6 separate regions of the Homo sapiens genome follow, and regions 1, 2, 4, 5 and 6 are each linked to region 3. Evidence: promoter capture Hi-C in 16 types of primary human blood cells and fetal thymus (Javierre and others, 2016). All regions are on one chromosome and are shown on one strand. Each heading gives the region's core, a stretch centred on a gene start or on the middle of the fragment in contact. The rest is flanking DNA. Distances are from core to core; before and after follow the strand shown.

Region 1 (3,277 bases), core at 71-2,570, 810 kb after region 3:
AACAGTTGAAGCAGGAAAAATCTCTGGCTTCTAAGGACTGGGCATGTTCTAGGCTCTGGCTTGGTTCTGGAAAAGAGGATAAAAGAAGAAAAAAAAAGAATGCTTTTACTTATACTTCTCTGGAATCTGTATTCCTAACATCTGTGGCTTTTTAAAAATTAATATAAAAGAGTCCTAGATTAGCAATGATCCCAAATGCCTACCAGAGGAAAACATACAACCTCTATGGAGGAACACACGTTAAACCCAGGCCTCAAAAATTTCCCATGGTAAGTTCAAAAGAAAATGTATTCACAATTAAAAAAAAATCACTGGTCCCATAAAGAAACAAGCTACCATGGGTGAGAGACAAAAGAAGCAACAACCATAGAATTAAAGATAGATACATTGCATATACTAGAATTTTCAGGTACAATACATAAAACAGATATATTTAATATAGTTCAAGGATTAAATAAAATGCTTGCAGGTATGAAGTAGTAAGATATTATTAGAACTAACTAAGCATATTTGAAAAATAAACAAATTGAATTTCTAGAGATGAAAAGTATAATTTATATTAATAAGTCAGATTTAAAGAGATTAGACACCATTGAGGACAGGGCTAATGAACTGAAGTGGAGATAAATGCATATTAAACCAAATACAACAAAAGAAGCAAAAAGATGGTAAAGAAAATAAAATGAAAAAAATTCTAACTTACATATTTGTAGTTCTTAAAGGAGATACAGGTTGAGTATCTCATATATGAAATTCTTGGAACCAGAATTGTTTCAGATTTCAGAATTTTTCAGATTTTAGAATAATTGCATTATTCTTAATGATCGATCATTTCAAATCTGAAACCCCCAAATCTGAAATTGACCAAAGATAATTTCCTTTTGAGTATCATGTTCGTGCTCAAAAAATTTCAGATTTTGGGGCATTTAGAATGTTGGGTTTTCAGATTTCGGATGCTCAACATGTAATACTGATAATGAAGAAGAAGCAGATTTTGAGATATTGGCTGGAAATTGATGAATACACCAAGCCTTAAATTTAGAAATCTCCCTCCCCAAATGAATGAGGAAGAATAAATTAAAATGAAATCTATACCTAGATACTTCACAGTAAAACTGCAAAGTAATGACAAAGAGAAGACTTGAAAGCAGACAGAAAAGACAGATTATCTATACAGATACAAAAATTACACTGGCAGCTCTATTTTCAATAGCCACATAAGAGATAAAAATGGTACAGTAATGTCTGGAAAGTAAAAATATAAAATAAATATCAACCTGGAATTGTCTACCAAGGAAAACTACTTTTCAAGAATTAGGATAAAATAAAGATGTTTTTGCAGGCAAACAATTATGGTAAGAGTTTTCTATACATAATAAACAAACTTCTAAACTATTTATTTCAAGAAGAAAGAAAATTCTCCCAGGATTTAGGTTTAAAAAGAAAAAAGGAATGGCAAAAAAAAAAAAAAAAAGAGTATATGAGTAAATTGAAACAAATACTGATTGGAATATACAATGCTAATAACTAATTTATGAGATAAAAACAAAATCAAAGTAGGACTAAAATCCTAAACAAAAACAGTAAGCAAACTGGGAAAAGATGATTGAAGTGAAAGCATTTCAAATGAATTTATTTGTAAGGTGATTAAAGATATTTATTAACCTTAGATGATGTTAATTTAAATATGTATGTCACAATTGCCAAGATAAGTACAAAATGAATAGAAACTAGAAGTTCCAAATTAAATAAATAAAATAAACCAAGCCAAAGGTAGCAACAAAAAAGTAACAGATAAAATAGAAATTATGAAAATATGAATCCAAATGACAATAAGAACAATTATACAAATTGACCAGTTTTGAAATTTTAGAAAGTTTATCAGACTGGATTGAGAAAAAAGCAAAAACAAAATTAGCTATATGTTATACACAAAGGATACTTCTAGAACATAAAGAAAACACTGAAAGTTAAAGATGGAAAAAATTTAACAGGAAAATACTAATCAAACAAAATCATAGATAGCCATTTTAATATGGAATAAAATAGAATTCAAGGCAAAATTATTACTAGGGATAAAGAGGGTATAAATGGTTATATAACTTTTAAGACTCGGGAAGATACAAATCTAAACATGAATGTACTTTATAATAGAGTCTGAAATATAAAAAACAAACACTAAACTTGAAGAAAATCATTATAAATTTGTCATAATGGTGGGAAATTCTAACATGCCTGACAAACTGATAAATCAAAAAGACATAAATAAAACAACAAGAATATAGATATGAAAATGCCACCAACCCCAATAAAATAACATTAATCTAAGGGACTTATATAGAACACTGCAGCAACAACTGGATAACACACACAGTTGACAATGTACAAGGCCAATAACAAAAAGATAAATATGTTTGGAAATTTATAAACATACTTCTAAATAAGAAGAAATTATAATGGAAATTAGAAAATACGTAGAACTAAATTATAACAACAATTACATATCAAAACATGCATAATGTAGCAAAAGAACTGTTAAAGGAAAATTTATAGGCAAGCTCTTACATTCAAAAAAAGTAAAATAAGGCTGAAAATATATCCACAAAGCACACAACTTAGTGCAGTATAGAGAGATAAAAAGAAGGAAAATCAAGCTAAAAGATGTGAAGGATAAATAAGATGTTTCAACACACAACTCAGGCATCCTAGAATAAGAGAACAGAGTGGGGAAGGGGCACTGTGTGAACACATAAAGGCTGAGTATTCTTCAGAATTAAAGAAAATTATAAAATCTTCATGTTAAAGAAACATAATGCATTCCCAAAAGACCAACAAAAATAAATTTGCACTTGGTCACACTGTTGTGTATAGCAACAGCAATAATGTGTCCAATTTGCGGGGGTTAAAAACAAAGCAAAACCAAAAAACTAAACAGTGAGGTGATTGAAATTAAACATTCTACAGCCTTTCAGGAGGAAGGCATGATATCTACTAATTTAGATTTTCTTTAACAAGGTATGCATGCTTAAAATTTAGGAGTAACGGGCTGGGCATGGCGACTCATGTCTGTAATCCCCGAACTTTGGGAGGCCAAAGAGGGTGGGTCTCTTAGGCTCATGAGTTTGAGACCAGCCTGGGCAACATGGCAAAACCCTGTCCCTACAAAAAATATGAAAATTAGCTGGGCTTGGTGGCAGAGGCTCGTAGTCCCAGCTACTTGGGAGGGTGAGGCAGGAGGATAACTTGAGCCTGGGAAGCCGAGGTTGCAGTGAGCCTA
Region 2 (3,370 bases), core at 390-2,889, 770 kb after region 3:
AAAAATGGTAAGTAGTTACAAAGAAAGATCATGATCTCACAGTGACTAGGAAACAACCATAATTGTGAACTTTATATAATTGTTCTTTCCCTTTTTATTTTTTTAACTAAGAAAACCAGCATGAATAGGAATAAAAATAACACAATGGCACCATTTCCTATTACTCTAAGCACGTCACCTATTACCTTATTTCATCTTACAAGCGCATTAGGCGTTATTAGACCCCAGTTCCCAAGAAAACTTGAGTTTGGCACATTTAGGAAACTTTCAGAAAAGTCAAAGTGATGGAAACCTAACAAGTCAAAGGAGGTGTGATGGGGGGAGAGGGGAGCAGAAAGAGGAGGGCTGTGTCCCCTGGGAGCCTTGTAAGCTGTACTACCTGAGCACATTAAGCTTGTGATGCTACATAAGGATATATGTATTTTTTTTTTTTTTTTGAGACAGAGTTATTCTGTCATACAGGCTGGAGTGTGGTGGCAGGATATTAGCTTACTGCAACCTCTGCCTCCCGGGCTCACCTCAGCCTCCTGAGTAGCTGGGACTACAGGCATGTGCCACCATGCCTGGCTAATTTTTTGTACTTTTTGTAGAGACGGGTTTCACCGTGTCGCCCAGGCTGGTCTTAAACTCCTGGGTTCAAGTGGTCCGCTCACCTCAGCTTCCCAAAGCGTAGATGAGGAATTTAACTAAGATGGGTAGTAGGTGGTTGGCTATATGGGCCTTTCATTCCTAAAGTTTGGGCTGGAAGCTATGACTTTGGTAAGCACATGGATGGTGTTTTAAGCCCACATGAGCATAAGAAATTGCCTAGGAAATGAATGTAGAGAGAAGGAAAGAGGATATAATATGGAGCCAGGAGAAATATGCAGGAAACAGAAGCCAACAGTGAAGACTCAGAGTCAAAGAAAAGTCACTTAACTGGAAGCCAATGGCAGAGACTATGTCAAGAAGGGAGTCGTCAAGTGCGTTGAATGATCGTGGCAATTCTGGTAAGGACTGAGGAATGTTCACTGGACTTGGTAAGATGAAGGTCATTGCTGACCTACGCAGAAGCAATTTCATTCAATAATCAGGAGAGAAGCCAAAGTATAATAAAGACTGAATAAAATTAAGGATGTGTAGACAGTAAGTGAAGATGCGTGGTTATGACAAGGAGAAAGATGAGAGACAACCTGGTGTGTGAGGGACCAGGCAGAATTTGCAGGCTTTGTTGGTTCATTTGAGAGAGCAATGTAAGCACACAGAAGCGCTACTGGAAGACTCCAGGAGCCAGGGAAAGATCGATGATGCGGGCGGGGATCCTGGTGCCATGAGGGTCCTGGAGAAGGCACTGGCGGTGGGTGTGGAGATCCAGGCCACACAGGAATGTGATTGTCTCTGCTAGGTGAGACCTCTCCCTTTGGAACAGAATGGCAAGAGGCAAGGATGGCAGATTAAGGGAAGAAGAGAGAATGCAGAGAAAGCTGCAATTACAAGGAGGCCCTGGCAGGCTCTGAGGCTCTCCCTGCATTCCCCATCCTCCTTTCTCCTATGTGGCTTTCTGGCTCAGAACCCTCTTTCTCCCAATGTTCTGTCATCTCCAACTCTTTTTCTTTTATTTCAGATAATTCCTCGTTTACCTCATTTTGCATACTAGCATATCACCTTGCCTTTTCATTGATCTTTTTCTTGCGTACGCATCTTGTTTGAGAAAGGAACTCTGGTTGTTCTTTTATTACTGGTAAATACATACAACATAAAATTTGCCATTTTGCCTATTTTTAAGTGTACAATTTAGCAAAAAACCTGGTTTTTATTTTATTACTTGTAAATACACATAACATAAAATTTGCCATTTTACCTATTTTTAAGAGTACAACTTAGCAGCTTTACGTACGTTCATTCACATTGTTGTGCAGCTATCACCAAGATCTATTTCCAAAAACTTTTTCATCATCCCAAACAGAAATTCTGTACCCAGGAAACAATAACTCCTTTTTCCCTCCTTCCTTCTGCTCTGAAGATCTCAATTCTCGTTTCTGTCTCTATGAAGTTTCCTATTCTAGGTGCCTTCTATAATTGGAATCACATAGTATTTGTCCTTATTTTACCTAGCATATTTGTAAGATTCATTATAACTCTATCAGAATCATTTCTTTTTATGACCAAATAATATTTTATGTCTAGGCCTCATTTATCTACTCATCTGTTGTTTCCACCTTTTAGCTATTGTGAATAATGCACTATAAACATGGGTGTGTGCTTTCGGTTCTTTGGGGGTATATATCTAGAAAGAGAATATAGCTGGATGATAAAGTAATTCTGTGCTTAACTTTTTGAGAAGCTGCTCAACTGTTTTTCATAGGGGCTGTACTATTTTACACTCCCAACAGCAATGCACGAAGATTCCAATATCTCCATATCATCACCCACACATTTTATTTTCTGTTGTTGTTATTATTATTATTTTGGAATAATAACTATTGTAGTGTGAAGTGATATTTCATTGTTGTGTTATTGTACATTTTCCTAATAACTGGGGTGTTGAGCATCTTTTCATGCGCTTATTGAACATCTGTATATCTTTAGAGAAAATGTCTATTCAAGTCCATTGCAAATTTTTAATTGAGTTGGATTTTGTTTTGAATTCTCTGCCTTTCACATTATCTTTTTGGATCTCCTCCATTCTGTAGCAAGATACTCTTGATAAATTAGAAAATTACAAAATAACTTTTTGTTTTTAAAAAACATTTTTATGAAAAATTTCAAATATGAAAATTTAAAGAATTGTGTTGTGATGATCACCATACCTGACATCTAATTTTTGTAATTGATATTTTATTATATTTGACTTATTTCATACCTATCATCTATCCAACATTCTACCTGTACATCAATCAAGCTTATTTTTTGGATGAATTTAAGATAAGTTGAAGATATCAGGAAATTATTTTTAATGAACAAAAACCACTCTCATGGAATGTGTAAGCTTGAGGCAGGGGTACAGCTGTCTCTGGGACTTCTCTGGCAGATAAAGTACAAGCACAGAAGAGGGGTAAAAGTCAGTGGGGGTTTAAAACTCTTTTACTTTGAATATGGCTTAATGAAATTTCTTGGGAAAATGAATCAAAGAAAACATTCCCAAGGAACAGGCAGTGCTGACAGGGAGATGTCACTATCAGAGCACCCGGGCTGTATATTACGATGGTTGCTGGGCAACACCGCTGGCTCATCTGGTTCACATGTAAATAATGAATCCTGGGCTAGAAGCAAAACTTCCTGAGGCTAGTAGGTTCCAGAATTAGCTCTTAAGCCTCTCTGTCCCTCTCCTACTATAGCACTGGCTCCTTGGTCTTCCCCAATGGGCTGTTAACTCCTTTGATGTCAGAAA
Region 3 (3,166 bases), core at 257-2,756:
ATCCTCCCCTGTAGAGTTCTGACTTCCTACTGGGAAGGCAAGGAGCAGCTTCCCACCCCACTGTTCTTAAGAATGATCAATAAGCTTTGCTCCTGTCTGAATCTACCTTGCTGACTTCCTATAACTGGGGTTGGAACTCTCTCTCTGTAAAATGTCAGATAGTGAATATTTTAGCTTTTGTGGGCCAAGAGGCAAAATCGGGAATGTTTACACAAATTTTTTGAAAAAATTCAAAACTTTATTCACAGACACTGAAATTTGAATTTTAGGTAAGTTTCATTTGTCATGTAATATTATTATTTTAATTTTTTCAACCATTAAAAAATATGAAAACCATTCTTAGCTCAATGGCCAGATAGAGTCAAGTGGCCAACTGCAGACAATAGTTTGCTGACCTCTATTCTAGAGCCTATTACTGAAGGAAAAAACCTAACCCCCCCCACACAAAAAGAAACCCTCTGAATATTAAGTGTCTTGCAGTCCAAGATGCCTCTGACTGACTCATTCACTAAAATGAATGGAAAGAGTTAGGAAGCATAGGAAAGAAAAGCATAAAGATTGTCAATACTTTAAGCTCCCATTTCCCATAAGCAGGAAGTCAAAATGTTTTAAGTCCAAACAACTGGCCAGAGCAGTGTCTTTTGAACTTGCTTCATGACCAGAATCACCTGGCTTCTTGTTGAAGCTAGATTCCCGGACTAGAGGTTTTGATGCAAGGGAGACTTCTGGGTGGGGGTGTGCTCTCGGGATCAGGTAAGCTGAAGAAACACTATTCCAGGGGGTGTAAAGGAACCTCAAAAGCTGTAGTTCTTAAAGTGTGGTCCGTGGCCCAGCAGAACCAGCATTACCTGAGAGCTTGTAAGAAATGCAAGTCTTTGGCCTACCCTAGAAACACTGAATCAGAAACTGGGGGTGGGGTCTGGCAATCTGGTTTTCATCAAGCCAGGTGGTCCTGATGCCAACTAGAATTTGAGAACGCCTGCTTCAAGGCATCATTACCAGCATCTGGAGAAGTGATTGAGAACCCACCTGAGCAGTGAAGGCCTGGGCGCTCTTAAACCACTGTGTTCTCAAGAGCGCAGGTCTGTGGGTGAGAGCAATTCTAACAGACATCTGAAGCCAAAGGCCTAGGTTTCCACAGGAAGATCTGGAAACCCTGTTCAAGGCAAGCCTTTTGGAAGTCAAGGCTGTATTCCCCTAAGAGGGGGCACCATGGATCCTAGAGATAGCAAATGCCACCCAAGGTGATGGTGAGGGAGTTTTCAGCTTTTCTGCACGTGTGACCGTTTACTGCACCAGGAGCTTTCTAGTGACTTCCACCTTTTTCAGGTTTTTCCAAGGTTCACCGGGGAACCCCTGTCCTGGGCCTGCCAGTGAGGTGCTGGGAGCTTCCCGACCTCACAAGCGGCTCTTGTGATGTAATTGCCACCTGAGGCGTGCCCCTCCTGGCCCTGGCGACATCACAGAGGCTACCTGGGCACGGACCCCGCAGCTTCCTGGGGCCCAGTCAGCCGCTCCAGGTGCTTAAGTCTGGACTGCGGAGGCCGGGGCGGTGGCGTGCAGGGTGAGGTCTCCCGGGCTGGCGCGCGTGCAAGCCCCCTGCTGCTACCTCGCGCTAGGCCAGCTCCAGGAGGGCAACAGACGACAGGACATTGCAAAAGGGCCACTTAAATTTTCCTTCGAGTAAACAGAACACCTGCCAAGACCCTCGAGCCTGGGCGTGCCCCAAGACAGGTGGTTGGGGTCTAGGAGTCGGCTGCAGCTGGCGATGCTCTGAGGGGACGTCAGGGCCTCAGGATCGCCCCTATGAAGACGAAGTGCATCTGTGAACTGTGCTCCTGCGGGTAAGGTGGCCACGCCCAGGGCAAGGCTGGGGGAGCCTGGGTTTTCAGACTCCCGAGGAAGGGAAGCCTCCCCCAGCTGCTTCATCAGGCGGCATCACGGTGGGTTCGTCCACTTGCTACGTTTTTTAAGCCACAATTGTGTCAACTAGCGTTGTGCCCGCGGACGCCACATCAGTTCTGGCGAATGTGGCTGTTTTCGGGCCTTCTGTGCCGCTTCACTTGAGAACTGCAGGAGGGTTGAAAATGGGCGTGACCGCGCAGTCTGCACTCCCTTCCCTGAAGCCCAGAAAGTGTCAGCCAAGGAGGGAGAACACCTGGCCCAGTGGGACCAGTCTTGCTCCTTTTGGGAAAGTGATAGGATGGGAGGAGAATTCCTGTAGTATAACTGAATTTCTCATTCAGAGAGATTGTTACTTTGTCAGAGAAGTATAAGGTATTAGTAAAACTTGTTCCACATTGTGTAGAGTTGAATAAGGATAATGAAAACATTACTTTCACAGTCGCCTGGCCTGCCAGGTCTCCCTTCTAACCTTTAAGGACCATCTTTGGGTGGAAGCGCAGTAAAGGTGGTCCTGGGGGAAATCATGGACTTTAGTCAGAGTCCCACGGGCTGACTGGTCTGCTGTCACTCACATGATCTCTTAGAGGCTCCTTCTATCTGCTTCCCAGGGCAGCTGGGTTTCTGCTTGGCTGGGGCAGGGAGTGGGCAGCAGAGGAGCAACAGGCAAGAGGGTTCTGAGGTCACCTTTCCTGGGCTGTCATTAATTGTGGGATCTTAGATTGGTAACTAAACTCCAGGTCATAGTCGCCTCATCTGTACCAACAATACGTACCTCATAGGACTATTGTAAGAGTTAAGATCATGTATGTGAGTCCTGGTACATGGATTGTGCTTAATATGTTAGTGTCCTGAAATCTGAAAAAAGGGCAAATATGACACATGCATATAAAAATGGTATCAGTAGTGTGGAGAATTAAAGGGCACTCTAAAAACTGGATCAGCAACCTTCTATATCTCTGGCATCAATAAATGGTTCCCAACTCTGGCTGCTGATTAGAATCACACAGGGAGTTTGAAAACTATCAGTTGCTCAGGCCGTTGAATTGATACTCTCAGAGTGGGCCCTGTCAACTGTCTAAAGGTGATTCTGGCCATTTGCTAGGACTGGGACTCACTGAACTAGATCATGTACAAACGTGGGTCTTGCTTTTGAGCTTTGTTAAGTGGGGCCAGAGCAGTGTATAGTCTAGGACTACATGTTACCAAGCAAAACCTTTTTTTCTAAGGCCGCCTTTCTTTTTTCTTTTTGGAGGCAGTGTCT
Region 4 (3,110 bases), core at 476-2,975, 560 kb after region 3:
ATGGGAAAGTTTTACTAAAGTATAATGAGATCATACTTCCATATGAAAATATCAAAAAAGTAATGTATACTGGTAATTTGCTTTATGATGCAATATAATGGGAAAATAACACACACTTAAAAAAATCACAAAGAAGGAAAGATGAGACAAACTAATGGTGTATACAAGTAACACATCCCATATGGAAAAAATGAGACACCTTTCATAAATCGCTTGCTCCACAAGTCATAAAGCATACCTAAACATTCTGTTCTTTGTATTTTTCAGAACAGCTAAAACTTATAGTTCATTCATGCTTGAAATGTAGTTTACCTTTAAATTTCTATGAAAAATTAAAAATTTATTTCTATATTTATAGCACTTGCAATGCAGCATTATAATTTCTTAGCTACAATGATGCAAATCATTAAGAAGTGGGAATGTATAAAATATTGAATCACTGTCTGATTACTCTATTTGATGAATCTCCTGGACTTTTTCAGTTTGTACCAAATGGCTTTCTTCCCTACTTCAAAATTATAGCGCAGATCAGATTTGTCAGAATATAATCAGAACAAACATTCCTTCCCCATCAAGGAATCAATGCAACCTATTCATTTGCTACATTTTTACCTTGTTCTCTTCCTGCCTTGTTACCTTCTGAGGAAGTTCTGGCATGTTATAAATGTGACAGGAAAAACTACAATCACATTTGTTTGGATCAGTGTGTGCAAATTTTGGAATCAAACCTTCAGATGAGGTTTACTAAGCTGCCTGCCCAGAACACTCTGGTTTAAAAAATGTGCATTGCTATTAATATTTTGAGTGTAGATTTATTTTGGACAGTAAATGTTCATTTTCTGCCCATAAAACCAAGTATGAGTCACAACGGAACATTTACTTCGAGTCAAAAATGCAATGTGTACTGACGTTCAAGAGCAGAGCATCTTATCACTATGACTGTGGCAATCAGCCGTACTAAAAGTCACCATTCCTTTTTCTTCTTTAAAAGTAAATTTGAGATCAAAGGCCATAATCCTCAATTCATAAATCCTAGCATTAACTTCTATCCATAAATGACTTGCAGTAATTAAGAGCCATAATCTGGGTTGGCTGCAAAGAGGCTCTCATTCCCCTCTTTACCTGGTTCCATAGTACATGTGCATAGATGGAAAGTAATTCATTAAAGGCGGTACGGGCAAGCTCTGCAAAGCCTATCCATCAAAAAATTCCAGGAACACCACAGTGAGTGAGTTTAATTTCAGGATGTCTGTTATCCAAATTCCAAGCATACACACCACCATATATACAGTCCTCAGCTCCCAAACTCCATGCAGTATGTCCCAAAGTTCATGTCTCAGTATCAGTATTACTGTATAGCAGTAACTAATTCCAGAAAGTCTTGCAGACTTTATCTTGCTTGGGAAGTTGAGGTTAAAAGTTCTAGAAGGAGTATTCTCTCTTTGTAATCGTGTAAATTATTTTACCTGGAGTTTTAAGATAAAGACACACACACACACACAAACACACATACACACACACACCCCCAACAGCACCCAGACTCAATGGCAATAGCAATGCATTGAAATGAAAAGGCATTTACCAGGAGCAGGAAAGCCAGAAAGAGGAGCAGTGTGCCAGGAGTTGCCCGACGGCAGCATTCCATGCTTGGATCCTTGCCGGAATCAGAATCGGACACTGAATAAGCTGCTAAGTGCTCCTCTGCCTGCTGTCACATCCAGTACTGGTGCTAACACTCCAGTCCTGCCTATCAGCTTCCATCAGCCCCTCTCACATTTCCTGACCGAGGGGTGGGTGGGTGGATGGGTGGGGGGTAAGCTGAATGGAATCTCTCTCGGAGCAGGCAGCCAGCCAATCAGGCTCCTGCTAATCAGACATGCTGAATAACAAAGCCAGGAGGACAGAGAAAGTGTAACGGTGCGAGCAAAAAAGGGGGAAAAGGACGAAAAAGAAAGGCGAGCGAGCAGCAGAGCGAGAAGGGAAATGCAAAAGATGCAGAATTGCAAAAGATGAAGCCAAGCACTGTGCTTCCCATGGACCTGGTTAGTTCTTTGTGAGATGCATTTCTATTTGCCATTTGCCTGTGCTGATGTCTGTTGCTTTGTAAAGTACAGTAGCTCCCTGTGACTGTGTATTGTTCCATTCAGGAGAGAAACTTAATCCCTGTCAATATATAACATATGCCATAAAGGGAAAGAACCATAGACAAAAACCGACTTAATGTGCCCTGTAAATGTGTTCTGTACAACTGTTTTATTTCGCCTCCATAAAGTTCCTCTTTACTTTCTCTCTTGACTTGCAAAATAAATACTCTATACATTTTCTGAAGGTTCCTCACTAAGCCTAAACAGTGGCATAAGTTATTTTGTGTTATTAAGGACTTAATTTGGGGGGAAAAAAACAAAGCAAGTTGCTTCTCTGTAAAGTGACAATTGAAGGCATTTAAGATTTGCTAATTGTAAAGGCACAATTAGAAACTTAGATCCCCCAGTTTAAAAAGAAACCCTCAACAAAGACTCCAGGATGAGTGGGGCTGAAATTTGGGGTTGAGGAGCAGCCTGGTTTTGATGCACTGCCAACTCTCAACTATCTATTTTAGCCACGGGAGAGAAAGAAAGGATGAATTAAATCCTCAGTTAATCCCCAAACCTTCTTTTAACCAAGTTTCAGCTTCCTCCGCACCTCACCCACGTCCTTTATCAGAGCTGTTATAATGCAGAAAAGGCTGAACTGAGTTTTACCTCATTTTTCCATCCACTATTGCAAGAGGGTTGGATGGGATGACCTTGGAGGCCAGTCCAGCCCTGAAGGAAGTGCTAATGAGCAGTGAAATGACGACAAGGCCAGCAACAGCAACGAGAAGGTCAGGAAGCTTCTGAAGCTGCTTAATCCACCAGCAAGGGAGATTTGACTCTACTAGAGGAAGGTTTTATTACAGTTTTAGAAAAGTGTCAAATGTCAAACAAGGATGTATTTCCCCTTATCTGCAAAGGAAATCATTGAGTTTTGAAAGAATAAAAGAGCAGCCCTGGCCTTACATTGCCATAGGTGTGTCATCAGGACGTTTTCCCTTTTCAGATCTCCTGATAGCCCAGAAATATATGCAGTGG
Region 5 (3,351 bases), core at 599-3,098, 760 kb after region 3:
AATTTGAAATATATGAGAGACCCAAACCTAACAGCTGAAACTATAAAACTTTGAGAAGAAAATGGGAAAATCTTAGAGAACTTGAGTTAGGCAAAGTTTTCATAGGACACATAGTAAATAAACCATAAATGAAAATATATACATTGCACTTCATAAAACTTAAAAGTTTTGCTGATCAAAAATACCATTAATAATATGGAATGGGAAGCAACACGTTAGTATAAAACATTTGCTAAACATATATCTGACAAAGAACTCTTTTCTAAAATATTTAATGAAGCCGTTCAACTTAATAATAAAAAGACAAACACCCAATAAAAAAGGGGCAGGGGTGATAGGTCTGAAAAAACAACTCATTAAAAAAAATATACAAATGGCAAATAAGCACAGTTGGGTATCAGTACACAACCACTGGGATAACTAAAGACTTTTGGTGGCTAAACCTGTATCAGATAAAATAGACTTTAAGTAAGAAACTTTCAGAAGAGACACTTGTAGGGAAACCAGAACCCTCATATATTGCTGGTGGAAATGCAAGATGGCACATCCACTTTTGAAAAGAGTTTGGCAGTTCCATATAAATTTGAACATGCATTTATCATAGGAGCCTACAATCCTACCCTGAGGTAGGATTTACCCAAGAGAAGTAGAAACACGCCTACATAAAGACCTGCACACAAGTATGTAATAACAGTTTTATTAATAATAGTCTCAAACTGGAAATAGCCCCAAATGTCTATGACTCACTAAAGGATTAACAAATTCTGGTACATCTAAACAATGAAATACTACTCAGCAATACGAAGGAATAGACTACTGATACATTAAAGATGACAGATGGCCCTCAAAAACATGCTATGTGAAACAATTTAGACGTAATACATTATATATTATCTGATTTCATTTACAGAAAATTCTAGAAAAGGCAGATCTGTAGTGGCAAAAAAAACCAGATCAGTAGTTGCCTAGGGCTAAGGTGAGATTAGGGATGGGCAATGACTGGTAAGTAGAATAAGAGAACTTTTTGTGCTGATGAAATTGTTCTGAAACTTGACTGTGGTTGGTGATAGTTGGATGACTATTCATATTTACCAAAACTCATAGAACTGTACACTTAAAATGGGCTAATTTTATTGTATATATAAAATACATCAATAAAGCTGTAAAATAAATGGGTATGAAACTATGCAGAAGTGCTGTGAAGAACAGTTTTTATTAATAGCTATAAAGTAATGCGCACAATAATGGGAGTAAGTGAATAAGCTCTCTCTCACCCTCATTTTGTTCCTTTTAACTTCATTATTAGAGGTAATGACTAAGAGGTCTTTTGAAATTAGTTTTTACTCTTTCTTTAAATACTCCCAATTGAATTGTATGGCTCTTTCACATAAAATGCCAAATACAAATTTTGCCCAGATGGACAAAAGATGTATTGTCTTCAAATCATTGGGTTGGCTCTCTTACTTTAGATATCCAAGCTTAAAAGCAACCAGATGAGGTTTCATGGAATTTTGTAAAAAGGAAAGAAAAAAGAAGACAATGATGAAGAAGAAATAATGAAAACAACTTTTGCTCATGGGAGGAAATTTTCTGTGCCAACTTTCAGTTCAGAATGATCTTTTATTGGCCAAATTCCAAATTCCTCAAAGTACAGGCTTACAATGGAAGTGCTGACACAATCTCAAATGCAGTGCTGCAAACAGGATGATATAATGAATGCTGTGTACATTTACTTACTATCTTTTATAATAGTCTCTTTTGCAACGATTTGCCTCATTTTAGTTTTTTTATTTTAGTCTTAATGCTAGAAAAAGTGGTTGAAAATCATGCCTTTTCCAAACTCTGTTTTTGTGCACTTATTATATAATAAAAATTAACCTTGGTGCTGAAATTTTTCAGACTTGTTTCTCTCTAAATGAGCATAATGAATATTTTTTTTTGCATTAAGTACAAATTTTCTTTTTATTTTGCCTATTTCTGTTGTATTATGAAATACCTCAGACATTGCAGATTTCTTTTCAAACTACTAACTCTTTTCATGAGGATATAATCAATTTCTATAACTGAAAATAATCTAGATGAAAAACTTGCTTATTTGGGGGAAAGAAATATTAGCTCAGTTTGCACATGTGTGATTTTGTACTCCATATTTCATGTTTTTTAAGATTTGGACAACTCAACAACGCTACATTATTACCATATGTTAATCAAAGCTTAATATGCAAGAAGAAAGAGCACTAGATATTACCTACATTTTTACGAATGCATCAAATAAACCATGCGTAGCGATAGGGATAAAGATTCGAGCTTTCTTCCCATGACACACCTGGAATAATCAGACTAAACTGCATGAATGAGAACTCACACTTCTTGCTTTTGCAATACAAGTGAGAGATATCTAAATTCCTTCATTCAAAATTTCTCTTCCATAGCTTCATTCTAGACTCACCCTCCAAATTATCTAAACCTAAAGTTTAAATAGGTCATTTAAATTATGATTTGTATGTATGCACACAGGACAGCAGCAGGATTTACGCATTTTAGGGAAACGTACCTGAGAATTTCCAGAATTTAATGCATAAAAAAATCTCTAAGGATCTTTCTGCACAGTTGACAATGATTAAGATCTGGTATGATAAATGTAGATATTTGATACTCAACAGTGGAAGACTGATCACTCAGAATTAGGTAATAAGATATGGAGCCTTCACATTACATTTTGTCCATTGAAATCTAGGTTACAACCAAGGAACTGGATGAAGTTGACCACATGGTTGGCATTGTGAGTGAAATGAATCTGAATTTGGCTTTTAGGCGGGATCAACACATAAAATTGCCATCCTAATGGTACCACACTTGACACTCTCAGTGGTAGAATAAGAATGATGCCGAGGACTAAATTTGTTGAGAATATATTTTCAAATTTGGAAGATAAATGTAACCAGGGGGCCTGCAGAACCAAAATTACTAGAAATGCCTGCACTGCCCCTTACCAATTTTCCTCTTTTCTGCTTACAAATAAAAGTCTTAATTTTTGTGAGAACATAAAAGGCTCAGAGACAGCTATATCCAATAACACAACTAAAAGTGTTCTACTATGGATGTCAATATGACTGTGAGGTGGCCGGGCGTGATGACTCACTCTTGCAATCCCAGCACTTTGAGAGGCCAACGCGGGCGGATCACTTGAGGTTGGGAGTTTGAGACTAAACTGGCCAACATGGTGAAACTCCGTCTCTACTGAAAATACAAAAAATATACCAGGCATGGTGGTGCCTGCCTGTAGTCCCTGCTACTTGGGAGGCTGAGGCACGAGAATCACTTGAACCTGGGAGGGAGAGGTTGCAGTGA
Region 6 (3,171 bases), core at 73-2,572, 790 kb after region 3:
TTCTTTCACCATTGTATCCTCTTGGTTCCCTTGTCAAAAATTAGTTGACCATATAAGTATGAACTTATTTCTGGACTCTATTGTGTTCCACTGGTCTATGTGTCTGTTTTAATGCCAGTACCGTACTGTTTTGATTACTACAGCTTTGTAATATAATTTTAAATCAGAAAGTGTAATGTCTTAATTTTTCTCTCAGAAACATTTTGGCTATTCAGGGTCTTTTATGGTTCCATATGAATTTTAGGACTGTCTTATTTTTGTAAAAATGCCATTAGGATTTTGATAGATGTTGCATTGAATCTGTATATTGATTTGGGTAGTATGGGTGTTTTAACAGCAATAATTACTTCAATCTATGAACATGAGATATCAATCCATTAATTTATATTTTCTTTAATTGCTTTCATCAATGTTATAGTTTCAGTGTAGAGATTGTTCACCTCCTTGGTTAAATTTATTCCTAATTTTTTAAAAAACTATCATAAATGGGATTGTTTTATCAATTTTTTCAATTAGGTTGTGATTTGTGTATAAAAATGATACTGATTTTTATATGTTGATTTCATATCCTACAACTTTAGTGCATCAATTTATTTAAAAGCTTATTTGTGGTATCTTTGAGTTTTTTTAACATGTAATAGATCATACCACCTTCAAATAGAGATAATTGTATTTCTTCCTTTCTTACTTGAATGCCTTTTATTTCTTTTCCTTGTCACATGGTTCTTGCTAATAGTTCTAACACTATGTTGAATAGAATTAAAGAGAGTAGACAACCTGGCTTCATACTGGATCTTAATGAAAAAGCTTTCAGTTTTTCCCCATTGATTCTAATGTTAGCGGTGAGTTTTTCCAAATGGCCTTTATTATGTTGAGGAATTTTCCGTATTTACCTAAAATGTTAAGAGTTTTTATTAAGAAAGGATTTTTGACTTTGTTGAATGCTTTTTCTGCATCAAGTGAGACAATCATGTGGTTTTTAATCTCTCATTCAGTTAACATGATATATTACATTGATTGATTTGCATATGTTAAACCAGCCTTGCATGTCAGGGATGAATCCCATTTGTTCATGATATGAAATCTTTTTGATGTGTTGTTGACTTTAGTTTGCTAATATTTTATAGAGGATTTTTACATTAATGTTCATCAGAGAATTGGCTTATAGTTTTCTTTTCTTGTGATGTCTTTGTCTGGCTTAGGTATCAAGGTGATGGTGGCCTTATAAGATGTGTTAGGAAGTACTCCCCCTCGAGTAATTTGGAAGAGTTTCATAAGTATTGGTATTAATTTTTCTTAGAATATTTGGTAAAATTCAACTATGAAGGCATGAGGTTTTTTGTTGCTGTAAGGGTTTTTGTTGCTTTTTCAATTTCTTTATATGTTATTGATCTGTTCAGGATTTCTATTTCTTCCTGATTCTATCTTTGTATGTTGTATTTTTCTAAGAAGTTATCCATTTCTTCTAGGTTATCCCATTTTTTGGTATATAACTGCTCATAATAATCCCTTATGATCCTTTTTTATTTCTAAGGCATCTGTTGTAACTTCTTCACTTTCATTTTTGATTTCATTTGAGCCTTTTCCTTTTTGTTTAGACTAGCTAAGGTTTGTCATTTTGTTTATATATGTCTTATAACATCATGTTATATATGTTAAACATGTGCAATACAAATTTTTTTTTTAAAGAGAGAAGAAACACATTTTGGCTGTTTTAGTCTACTCAGAGCTTGAGAAGGGAATATTAATAGCCTGAAAGGAAGGCTCTACTGCAAAAGGCAAGATAAATGATAACCTGGACAAGATATCATTGATGGAGCAAGACTAGGAAGCTTAAGAAAGTGTGATCAAGAATACAGGTAGGTGAAATTAAGAGAAGCCAGAAAGGGTTCTACAGAGGCAACAGCAAAGAAAGGGAGGAAGAATAATTGAACGTTGAAATTAGGCCAATTAATGACCCTATAATGGCTTCTAAGTGTTCAAGTGAAAGGAAAAGGCATTTATCTTTCACTTGAAATCAAAACCTAGAAATGTACCTTAGTGAGGAAGACATGTCAAACACCAAAATAGACAGAAAACTAGGCTTCTTGTACTCAGTAGTTAGTCAAATGCAAAGGAAAAGTTCTTGAAGGAAATTAAAAATGCTACTCCAGTGAACACAGGAATAAGAAACAGCCATAATGACGATATGGAAAGTTTTAGTGGTCTGGAGAGAAGATCAAACCAGCCACAATATTCTCTTAAGTCAAAGCCTAATCCAGAGCAAGGCCCTAACTCTCTTCAATTCTGTGAATGTTGACAGAAGTGAGGAAGCTGCAGAAGAGAAATTTGAAGGTAGCAGAGGTTGGTTCATGAGGTTTAAGGAAAGAAGCTGCCTCTATAACAGAAAAATGCAAGGTAAAGCAGCAGATGCTGATACAGGGCTGCAGCAAGTTATCCAGAAGATCTAACTAAGATCACTGATGAAGGAGGCTGCACTAGACAACAGATTTTCAACGTAGATGAAACAGCCGTATAAGATATGTTAGGGAGTACTCCCTCTGGAGTACTTTGATATCTTATATTCAATGGCATCTTATATTCAATGATATCTTATACTGAAAGAAGATGCCATCTAGGCCTTTCAGTAGCAGATAGGAGAAGTCAGTTCTTTGCTTCGAAGGACAGTCTAACTCTCTTGTTATGGGTTAATAGAGTGGTAGCTTTAAGTTGAAGAAAATGCTCATTTCCCATCCTGAAAATTCTAGGGCCCCTAAGAATTATGTTAAAACTACTCTGCCTGTGCTCTATAAATGGAACAACAAAGCCTGGATGACAGCTCATCTATTTATAGCATGGTTTACTAAATATACAAAGCCCACTGTTAATACTTGCTGCTTAGAAAAAAAAAAAAAGATTCATTTTAAAACATTACTGTTCATTAACAATGCACCTAGTCACCCAAGAGTTCTGATAGAGATGTAAGGAGATAAGAGTTGTTTCCATGCCTGCTAATACAACATCCATTCTGTAGCCCACGGATTAAGGATTAGTTTTGACTTTCACATCTTATTATTTAAGAGATGCATTTTGTCAGGCTAAAACTGCCATAGATTATAATTTCTCAATGGATCTGGGTACAGTAAGTGGAAAACCTTCTGGAAAGGAGTCACCTTTCTAGATGCCATTGAG

Evidence for each region. Contacts are between HindIII fragments. The CHiCAGO score rates a contact against its expected background, and 5 or more counts as called.
Region 1: a contact is called between a fragment that was not itself captured here and the fragment with the promoter of SAXO1 in region 3, in 1 of 17 cell types (fetal thymus). The highest score is 8.0, in fetal thymus.
Region 2: a contact is called between a fragment that was not itself captured here and the fragment with the promoter of SAXO1 in region 3, in 16 of 17 cell types (fetal thymus, megakaryocytes, naive CD4 T cells and 13 more). The highest score is 43.2, in fetal thymus.
Region 4: a contact is called between the fragment with the promoter of ADAMTSL1 here and the fragment with the promoter of SAXO1 in region 3, in 2 of 17 cell types (endothelial precursors and fetal thymus). The highest score is 6.7, in endothelial precursors.
Region 5: a fragment that was not itself captured here is called in contact with the fragment with the promoter of SAXO1 in region 3 in 3 of 17 cell types (fetal thymus, megakaryocytes and M2 macrophages); the score reaches 9.4 in fetal thymus.
Region 6: a contact is called between a fragment that was not itself captured here and the fragment with the promoter of SAXO1 in region 3, in 8 of 17 cell types (fetal thymus, megakaryocytes, naive CD4 T cells and 5 more). The highest score is 13.0, in fetal thymus.

What each region holds. Positions count from the first base shown.
Region 1 is chr9:18,220,842-18,224,118 of GRCh38, reverse strand. It overlaps a transcript of ADAMTSL1 not described here. Among named protein-coding and RNA genes, the nearest start is that of ADAMTSL1, 250 kb to the left of the region's middle. The HindIII fragment of the contact is 5,046 bases long and covers 1-3,277 here.
Region 2 is chr9:18,256,577-18,259,946 of GRCh38, reverse strand. It overlaps a transcript of ADAMTSL1 not described here. Among named protein-coding and RNA genes, the nearest start is that of ADAMTSL1, 220 kb to the left of the region's middle. The HindIII fragment of the contact is 2,488 bases long and covers 396-2,883 here.
Region 3 is chr9:19,031,549-19,034,714 of GRCh38, reverse strand. It overlaps SAXO1 (stabilizer of axonemal microtubules 1), which reads left to right and starts at 1,506. Exons shown (of 4, transcript NM_153707.4): 1 at 1,506-1,844. The coding sequence starts at 1,807. RefSeq lists enhancers at 1,077-1,630, 1,631-2,184. The HindIII fragment of the contact is 8,262 bases long and covers 87-3,166 here.
Region 4 is chr9:18,472,768-18,475,877 of GRCh38, reverse strand. ADAMTSL1 (ADAMTS like 1) reads right to left here and starts at 1,725. Exons shown (of 29, transcript NM_001040272.6): 1 at 1,583-1,725. The coding sequence starts at 1,645. The HindIII fragment of the contact is 3,309 bases long and covers 1-2,874 here.
Region 5 is chr9:18,273,152-18,276,502 of GRCh38, reverse strand. It overlaps a transcript of ADAMTSL1 not described here. Among named protein-coding and RNA genes, the nearest start is that of ADAMTSL1, 200 kb to the left of the region's middle. The HindIII fragment of the contact is 735 bases long and covers 1,481-2,215 here.
Region 6 is chr9:18,240,065-18,243,235 of GRCh38, reverse strand. It overlaps a transcript of ADAMTSL1 not described here. Among named protein-coding and RNA genes, the nearest start is that of ADAMTSL1, 230 kb to the left of the region's middle. The HindIII fragment of the contact is 1,025 bases long and covers 810-1,834 here.